Regions from separate parts of the Homo sapiens genome. Here region 2 is linked to region 1. The links are contacts of gene promoters, found by promoter capture Hi-C in human tissues and cell types (Jung and others, 2019). All regions are on one chromosome and are shown on one strand. The core of a region is centred on a gene start or on the middle of the fragment in contact, and the rest is flanking DNA. Distances in the headings are between cores, read along the strand shown.

What was found. Contacts are between HindIII fragments. The study calls those that stand out against the background at their distance.
Region 2: a contact is called between a fragment that was not itself captured here and the fragment with the promoter of ETF1 in region 1, in 1 of the 25 tissues and cell types used here (mesendoderm cells).

The regions. Positions count from the first base shown.
Region 1 is chr5:138,540,134-138,545,103 of GRCh38, forward strand. ETF1 (eukaryotic translation termination factor 1) reads right to left here and starts at 3,103. Exons shown (of 11, transcript NM_004730.4): 1 at 2,964-3,103; 2 at 2,700-2,803. The coding sequence starts at 2,785. RefSeq lists enhancers at 2,614-3,813, 2,755-3,544, 3,264-3,663, 3,545-4,334 and a silencer at 2,924-2,973. The HindIII fragment of the contact is 28,551 bases long and covers 1-4,970 here.
Region 2 is chr5:139,064,094-139,069,063 of GRCh38, forward strand. The region is part of intron 3 of SIL1 (SIL1 nucleotide exchange factor); the gene reads right to left. Among named protein-coding and RNA genes, the nearest start is that of SIL1, 130 kb to the right of the region's middle. The HindIII fragment of the contact is 6,028 bases long and covers 1-4,970 here.

The DNA.
Region 1 (4,970 bases), core at 1,853-4,352:
TTAATTTCAAAATCACTCTTATTCTAGCATATTTTAATAACTACTGTTAAAAACAAATCCATGATTCCTATGCCTAGAATTCTACACTGCTAAGGGGAGGAAAGGGCTTTTTCATTTCCAAAACAATACTGTTACTCAACCACTAAGTCTCACTACCTTGTCCTAATAACCATGCCTGAAAACCTCAGTTTCCTCCTGAAAACCAGAGTATCCCCAAAACATCAGCAAATACAGATTCATTTTGCCATCCACTTAAGTCTTTAAAGCCCATTACAATTCTTCTAAAGATATTTTATCACTAGGTAAAGTAGGAATAACATTTTCCACTGTACCCTATCTATGAAAATCTAGAGTCTGACTTTAACACAAGTTGGCAATGAAAATATTCCCACCTCCAAAAACTGGTATATACTGGGGAATCTTCTGACTCCCTTACCAATACTCAGAGATGGCCAAGATTTTAAATTTCCATGGGATCAAGATGCAACCAAATCCTGATTAAAAGCAAAGTAGGACATGATTATTAACCACAATGTGTAGCGGAAGGTCCTCCAGCTATTTTAGACAGCTTAATCATGTCTGAAATATCCAAACTCAACAACTTGAAATACAAGTTGTGTCTTATAACTTCATTTTTAGCATGCTTTAAACTTTACTGAACTTTGCTAAACAAAGAGGTAAAGCCTTCAAAAGCCTTAAAGAGGCGCTTAAAAGTTTCTAGTGGCTAGGTAACATGGGTAGAACAAATTTAAGAATGAGTTTCCTTCATTAAGCAGTAGAAAGGAATGCTGTTACTTATTAAGCAATGTCATCTTCAATGTTACTTCATTCAAACAGGCAAATTATAGTCATGATTTAATTTTTTGGACTGTTTCAGAGAATATAACGTATGCAAATTAAAATGTGTAAACCTGCCTGCTACTGAAAGCAGTAAGAACAAATCCAGAGGTCACATCCACCTATATACAATACTGCAACAACAGCAATCTATAAAATGCAATACTGGATTGAAGGCTTCAAGTAACAAAACAAGATCCTACTGAAACAAAAGAACCTGGCTAATTCTTGGTAGTGCAACATAATGGGTCGTGACCTATGTTACCCTTTCTGTACAGTATTCTCACATTTTGGGAATAACTGGTCACTCTATCATACGGCACAAGTTCCTGTAAGATCATTAAGAAGGTCTGGATATTCTATTGAATTCAAAGAAAAACCTAAGGACTAACAAGCCGCTGTCTTCGATTCATATTAAACTAACGTTTCTCCAGTAAACCGAAGGAGTGAGCACAAGCCCGTCACTGAATGGGGCCAAACTTTTAGAAGCCTCATTCCAAACAGAACTGTCCCTAATTTATTAAGAACAAAACACTAGTAAAACCAACCTGTGAATTGGGCCTTCAGTACAATTAAGCACATCCTGTTTCATATAACAGTAATAATGAAGAGCTTGGAGGGGCTGTCATTCTAAAATTGCAAATCTACCCATAAATGACAATCCTGGGCTGGAAACCAGAATGTCAAATTCTTGTGCTGAAATCAACTTTTCACATGGCCTGAGGCAGGCCATTCTACTATTCTAAGAATGCTCAGACATACAAGTATGTAATAATGTTCCAAACACTTTTTTTTGGGGGGGGGGGCACTTCCTGTAAGTAAAAAGTTTCTATGACTGGGAAAGGAACAAAATAAAGTAATAAAAGAAACAGGAATACCCCTGGCACACCTTCCTCAAACGAACAACGTTAAAAAAAAAAGAAAACACACACACACAGCTAATTTTAATCTAGCCTACTCTCCCCCCAATGGACACACCTACAGTTTCTTATCAAAATGTACAAGACTCAAAGCCCATTTAATTCAATTATGAATCTCACTCAACAAGCATCAAGCACATCAGGCGCCTCTCTACAGCGATATCCCCACAAGTTTCAGAGAAATGCCAGCAGGGACTCTGTAGTTATGATTCCTATCAAACGGCCCCCTAACCCGTATTTCTCCTGGACATACACATGCAGATTCATTAACCAAAACCTACCCAGCACCCCTCACATCGCGCGTACGTTGGCATTTTCAGTTTATAGGTGGGTCCTGGAACAGCTAAAACCAGGAAGCTCCGGGGTAATTAGAGGACTTGGGAGAAGTCATCTTGGGACAGGTGGAAGACCCAGAGAAATCAGGAATCAGAAAGAAGCTGTCCCTGGCCACCTCTGCTTCCCGTCCCATCCAAACTTCACCCACCCGGGTCTCAGAAGCCCAGAAGGGAGAGGCCATTTTAATGAGGCCTGGCTGAGAAATGAAGGGAGAAGAGGAAATCAGGGAAGGGCCCTGGGAAAGGAAGGCCGAACACTTTGCCACAATAGCACCCGAGTCGGGTGGCAGCACCTGGAGCCCGAAGAGGGAGGACCTGGACTTAAGGGCCCGGGAGAGGTGCAAAAGTAGCGGTGGCCTACCACGAGGGGGGCCGAGTGATCTAAACCGGGGAGCGCGGGCCCCTTACCCCCATGCGGGGAAAGGACCCCTTCTCGGGCCAACCGCGCCGACCCTCGCCCCTGGGTCAGGGGCTACTACCCAGAGATCCAGAAGGCGGGAGTTGGCTAGTGCCTGGTTCTCCTCATCCGGCCATGCGGCGCGGGGGCGTCCATCCTGAGGGGTCCGGGAACCAAGAGGGCACGGAGGGTGCCGGACGCGGCGCTCACCCGCGGGCCGCCTCCAAGCTCTTAATGAGCTTCTTGATCTTCCAGATCTCCACGTTCCTGTCGGCAGCACTGGGGTCGTCCGCCATCTTCTCGCCTCCTCCTCCCTAGAGCGGCCCGGCGGGGCCCGGAGACACCAAGACCACAGAGTTAGCGCCGCCGCTGGGGCAGAGCGGCCCCCTTCCTCGCCATCCCCCAGAGGCCCTCTCCTCCCGTCCGGTGCAGCTCGCCACAAAGGTCACCGGCCTTTCCCTCCCTGTGCCTTACCTAAGGGCCCAGTCCTGGGCGGCAGCGGCTGCTCCTCCCCGGCGGCGGCTCCGCGGCGGCGGCGGCTCTGACGTAGGACACCGGCTCCCTCTCTCCAGGCAGCTGCATGTGTTGCAATCCGCTCACATGGGGCCTGTGACATCACTTCCTCCGCCAGGGGCGGAGTGGAAGGCGGCAGGCGGAAGGGAGGGGGCCGGTGCGAGTGAGGAGAAGCTGGGCGTCCGCCGCGACTTCTCATTGGCTCTCTGCCCCGCAGCCTACAATGAGCCCGCCGATTGGCTGCAGCTGGGTCCGCGCCGCCTTGTGAGGTAAGGCTGGGGGGTGGGAGGTGCCACCTTTCTTCCGGCCCGGCAAGGCGAGAGGAGGAAGCGGGCGGAAGCCGGTGGCTCTCGCGAGTTTACTGAGAGCCCCCGTCAGGCTCGAATGGGGGTGGTTCTTAAAGAGAGAGGACCGGGGTCGTCGTCTTTTCAGTCCATTCTCCTTGAATAGGGTGGACATCTGAGGCTTTGCGACTCGAAGCTAGGCACTTGGGCCCGACGCGCGGTTTGAACGGTGCTTGAGAAGCCGCGAAGAAGCGCCTCGCGCTCAGCGGCTTCTTCGCTGACGAAGTGCTGCGGTCTGCGTGCGTCATGGCTGCACGGAATAGTGTGGAGGAGTCCTGGCCAGTAGGTCTGGATGAGGAACCTGCCTCCGGGCGGTCCGGGACCCTCACCTGCAGGGGCGAAAGAGGCCTGTTTTCTCTCGCCCCAGAGCTAGGACGGGCTCACTTTGGACTTAGAACTTTATGGGGTGGAAGACAGCGGGGGCTGCCTGAGCTTGGAGACCTGAGGTATCTGGTCCCATGTATGATTTGGCCTGAGCCGTTGAGAATGGGGGTGGAGAGAGTTGAAACAAAATGGGCATCCACATACGGTTAGAACTTTATCTTTTTGAGTTAGGATTTTTAGGTGGCTACTTTGTCCCCCCTCACCTCGTCTGGGTTCAAATATTGAGCCCAGACCGTGTGCTGGACCCTGTTTTCCTGGGGATACAGAGGTGAACCAAACAGATGACAGTACTTACCCTTATGGAGCTTATAGTCGATTGGGTTTTTAAGTTTGTGATTTTATACTTTTTGTAATAAAATAATTACACAAATGCTTAAGTACTTCAGGGTGCTCTGAGAGTGTATGGCGGGGACCCAGCTCTGAAATGAGACCCAAAGGATGATTAAGAGTTTGTCAGGAGGAAACAGAATACAGTTGAGAACTACAGAAACGCCAGTGTGCTGGCACAAGGTCAGGGACGGGGAGAGTGGTTTGAGGGAGCAGCAGGGGAAGAGGTCATGTAGGGTCTTTTAAGCCAGATTCAGAAGTTTGGTTTCTTTCAAGAACAGTGGGTAGTTTAAAGGGTTTAGAGCCCTGGTGTGGACTGGAGAGAGTACAGGAGAAGCCCAGAGACCATTTTGGCTGCTTCATTATCATGTGAGAGATGATTTTCGCTTACATTAGGGTGGTGACAGTGCAGATAGAAGTGAATGAAGGGCCTGGTGCAGTGGCCCACGGCTGTAATCCCAGCACTTTGGGAGGCCAAAGGGGAGGATCGCTTGAGCCCAGGAGTTTGCGAGCAGCCTGGGCAACATGGCAAGATTCCGTCTCTACAAAATTACAAAATATTAGCCTGGTGTGGTGGCCCGCGCCTGTAGTCCCAGCTGCTTGGGAGGCTGAGGTGGGAGAAACCCTTGAGCCGAGGAATTCGAGGCTGCAGTGAGCTGAGATCACACCACTACACTCCAGCCTGGGTGACAGAGCGAGACCTTGTCTCGAGGAAAAAAAAAAAGTGAATAGGACTGGATGATGGATTGGTTGAGGAAAACCAAGAATGGTTCCCAGAGTACTGAAGTGGTGACATTTACTGAGGTGGGAAAGGTGAGGAGTAGGTGTTGGGGGATGATTGAGAATTTCATCTTGGGCCTGTTAAGTTTGAGATTGCTTATGAGACATGTAAGTAGGGATGTCCGTCATGCGC
Region 2 (4,970 bases), core at 767-3,266, 520 kb after region 1:
CTCTTATTGTTCTCGTTTACAGCACCTGTTACCTCCACAGACAAATATGGTTCTATGAATTATTTCAGACCAGTATCAGCTACTACTGACTTCTACAATTTCCCTAGTGGCCCTGCCACAAAAGCCCCTCAGTTTGGATACTCCCAGCAATGAAAAGGGGAAAAAAATCCATAGGGATGCCTGCAGCAAAATTCTTAGGGTAGAATTTCTCTCTAGACCAGCTCTAAAGGATGGGACTCCACATCATTCTATTTATTGTTGTGGGGTGGTGTGTGCAGGGATCAGGGAGGTGAAAATGACAATCAGAGTGGGAGAAGAGGCAGATGGAGCAACAGGTACAGTGCAGAGACGGCAGTCATATAAACAACTGGTCCTAAGTCCTTGTCCACCTCCCATTGGGGGAGCCCACCCTCCTTAAATATAGGCAACTTTAACAAAACGAGGTTATTCACCTGAGCCTCCTTTCACCTGTCAAAGTGTAATGACAATCCAAATTTTCTGCCTTTTAGTTTAAAGTTTTGGATCGTTGGTATTGAGAGACCTACTAAGTAGTGTTGTGCTTTGCTTTCTTCACTTGTATTGCTGGTTTCACTAGAAGGAATTGCAGCCTTTAGCACTCGGATGACCTAGGCAATTGTTCAGCTGGTGGCAGAGGGCACAGACTCAGGAAGATCTGGTTCCAGGTCCAGTTCCACCACTTAATAGCTCTGAGACCTTGAGCAAATAACACCTATGACTCATCTGCAGAATGGGCATCAGAGTACCCACTTCACAGGGCTCACAGGGTTCACTGCCAGGAATAAGAGATCATGCATAGGAGATGCTCAGAGCTGACACCAGAGAGTTCTCAATAATGTTCTCTGCCTGGCTCTTGCCTCTCTGTGACTTGTTCAGTTTTCCCAGCTATGAGAAAAAGACCAGGGCCATGCCATGATAGATGCTCAAACTGAGTGTTAATCGGCTCTCAATACATACTTGATTGAGTTCTGCAGAGGAAAGAAGAGTACATGATTTTTTAGAATATTCATGTCAGGCTGTCTTGTTAAGGCTGCAAAAAATTCAGTAACAATGAGGGCTGCGGGGCATCCAAACTGAGAGGGCAGCAAATGAGCTGTTTAAACTTAGCCTGTACCACATCGAAAACACCCACTACAGCTTTCCTTGGCTCAGCCAACCTGCAGGCCACCAAACCCACTTAAGATGGGTCAGTCTCTGTCTCACTCCCCAAGACATCAGAATAGAAATCAAAGAGGCCATATCCAGCAGCAAAACTGAAGCAAATGTGGGGAGGATTTAAAGGAGCACAACTGCCAGCTGGCAACAAGGAAGAAGGGCTTCAGGTTTCCTGATAAACTTAGCTCAGTCACAAACTTAAGCCAGTTTTGCAACAATGCACCAAAGAGCTTATAAAAGCAGCTACCCTGCTCTGGGTTTCTGCTCCTCAGAGGGCTGTGCTGACAGGTGCCCACCCAAGCATGGGCAAGGAGGCCTGGATGTTCTAGGCCAATGCACACAAGGTTGGTGCTCCAGCAAAGCTGCTGCTGTGCACACTTCCAACAAGCAGCCTGCCTCACACCTCCACCCCACCTTCACAACAGCTGATGCTGCCCCCAACTGCACCCCCATACACCCAATCCTGGGCAACTAATGGGAACTCTGTGCTGTCACTTGATGAGAAACACTCTACCCACTATACACTCCTGAGTCTTCTCCAAGTACCCAGGCAGAAGTATATGGAACCTCTGGCCTTGGTGCTCCCTCCTATTCATAGGCAGATTCAGGCCCTACTGACTACTTGTGGTCTGGATCACTTTTGACAGAAGTCGTCTCCCAACAAGTCATCTCTCTGATATCCTCTTTCAAACTTCCATTTCAGATTTATAAAAGAGAAGGCAAATCCCTCATAACTTCAGGACCTCAGCATTCTGAGCTAGAAAGAACTTCAGGAGATCATGAGACCCAGCCCCCACTGAAAAGATAAATGTTCCCTCCTTGTGCCACTGCAGTTAAGTACAGCATCCCCCAGGACAGGCTTGTTGGCACTCTCCTTCTTACAAGCCTTCAGTGGCTCCCTGCTGCCCTCCGAAGTACCAATAATACTATCTCATGGTGTTCAAGGCCTGCCTAACCTAATGAAATCCTTGCTGATATTCTCTGCCTTATCGCCCCTCATCCACAGCTACCCCACGCTCTGGCTAAACTCCCCCTATGCTTTTCTTAGTCCTTAATGCCATCTCTTTCCTTGCTTTTTGCCTGTCAAATTTCAATGCTTTTTTTTTTTGAGATGGAGTCTTGCTCTGCCACCCAGGCTGGAGTACAGTGGTGCAGTCACAGCTCACTGCAGCCTTGACCTCCCAAGCTCAAGTGACAGTCCATTTTTTAATAGGCTAGCTTGAGCAACAACTCCATGCAGTTTTATACATTATCTTTCCATCCTTTCAATCTCTAGTGCCTTGCTTATTCTTTTCTAATGACACTTCCTCTATTCATTTTCTCTTAGTCATTTGGCTTCTTGTTAATCATTAAACAGACATTTACTGACCATCTACTATGTGCCAGGTTTTAGGAAAATTAAAAGTGAGACATGGCCTCTCTACTCTTTTTACTTTACTTTTATTTATTATTTTTTTGAGACAGGGTCTCACTCTGTTGCCCACGCTGGGGTGCAGTGGTATGATCACGGCTCACTGCAGCCTTGACCTCCCAGGCTCGAGTGATCATCCCACCTCAGCCTCCCTGGTACCTGGGACTACAAGCATGCACACCACACCCAGATAATTTTTGTATTTTTGTACAGACAGGGTTTCGCCATGTTGCCTCTCTACTCTTGAAGAGATCACTGGTCTAGTGAGGGAAACAAATCCATAAAAATTATAATACTTGCCAAGTTTTCCCCAATAGATTGTATTATTCTTGAAGTCAGAACATCTTTATATTCCCTGCATTGCTGAACAGAGTGCTTGGTACATAGCGAATGTCCATTGTGTATATGTTCTAAAACAAAGATGAGTGAGCATTATGGAAAGAAAAACAATTTCCTCTTTCTGAAATGTGGGGCAGAAGGATGTTGCAAAGATAGCCTTTAACTTGGGATAAGGGGAAAATAAACTTCTTATTTTTAAATGTATTTTAATTCCACAGCATCACTCCTCAACCCACAAGGAAAATAAGAGAAAGATACAAAGACTGAGAATTGCAAAGACAGAAACAAGCAAGCATCAAAATAGAATGGGATAGAAGTGTTGTTTAGTTCTTAACTACTACTAAACCACACACATCAGACTTTATCATGGGCTTCAGAGTATTATCACCTCTGATAACAGGATTTGATGAACTATTGGTCATAGCTCTACAACTGCTCTTTATCCTTAAACATTCAAGTATTTCCTAGTTCATCAAGCAGAAGTGGTTGGTGGTTAGGAAAACAAGAATAAGAACAATATTACTAGAGACCAGCTGGTGAAGCCTCTGAGATTATATGTGAAAGTTTTAAGTACACATTTACATTTTTCTAAAAAGGTCCATAGGTCTCATGAGTTTCTTAGAGAAAACTGTAAATCACTCTCAAAACACATACATAAACACTCATACCTTGAAGAGCCTCTGGGCCAATAATGGCAAGGCCTTGCAGCAACCGGCATCCTAATAACTGTAGGTAAGGATAAATTAGTGCAAGGCTTTTGGGCATCTGGCAACATCTATCAAAACTGTAACTGTTCATTCCATTTGACCCAGCAGATGCTATGTCTAGGAATTTATCTAATAGAAATGTTCACAGAAGTGCACAATGATATATGGATAGAGTGTTCACTATAGCATTCTAATAATTGTAAACAATGAGAAGCAATACAAATGTCCATCAGTAGGGGATTTGTTACACAATACAGCATATCCCTTCAATGGAATATATTAGTCTTCAACAAAAAAGAGGGAGCTTTGTACTGACATAAACAAGATCACTAAAACTAAGCAAAAATAAGTTGCATATATATGATTTCATCTTTCTTTTTAAAGAACATATGTTAATGTGGCAAAAGCAACGTCGTCTAATCTACCAAATCCTCACATAAAAACAGACTGACTAGAGAGCAAAACTAAACCCATGAGCAACATTTCTATCAAAACCAAGTGCAAAGGTATTGGGAAGCAACAAGTTGGCTGAGAGACCTAAGAACAAGAAAACACCTAAGTAGCTGATAGGCATTCACTAAAAATTATAGTGGGCCAATGGGTAACAGCAAGTGAACCTATGTCTAACAGTGGACAAGGACAAGAAGTCTGGGGTAGGACTTCAAGGGGCCACAGCTGTCTAGTCCCCTGAACTCTCAAAATTAACCAGTGCTCCCTACCAGGACAGGGCCCCACACTGAGAAAATACGGCTAGAAGTGAAATCAAAACTGAGTAGACTTGGACGACAGAAATAAAGGAAACAGAGTCCAGATAAAACTGGAGGAGTAAAACAGAGCCAGGAAACCTCATAAAGCAAGCTGCCATGTTTTTGAACACTACCTGAAAACAAGAGAAGAGAAAACTTTCTCAAGCTTGACTCAGAATGAAAAGGAAAAAAAAAAAAAAAAAAAGAAGAGAAAGCACTATGGATTTAGAAAAGGTAATTAAAGCCATGCTTTTTTCTAAAAGTTCAAGAAACCTAATTTCACATAAAAATGAGCAATAGAAAGTATTATGGTACAATCCTATACAATAAAATTATAATAAAAAGAAGAAGAAAGAAAAGAATAACATCCCTACATACAATGAAAGTAAGCCAGAAAGACATGGCCACAAACATATAAAAACTGTAACTTCCTGTTTCAAAATGCACTAAAGACATTTGTTAAATGGTACAAGATACTCAATAACAAAAATCAGAAATGAGGTGCTAGAGGCTGTGTATGGTGACTCACACCTGTAATCCCAGCACTTTGAGAAGCTGAGGCAGCAGGATCACTTGAGGCCAGGAGTTTGAGAC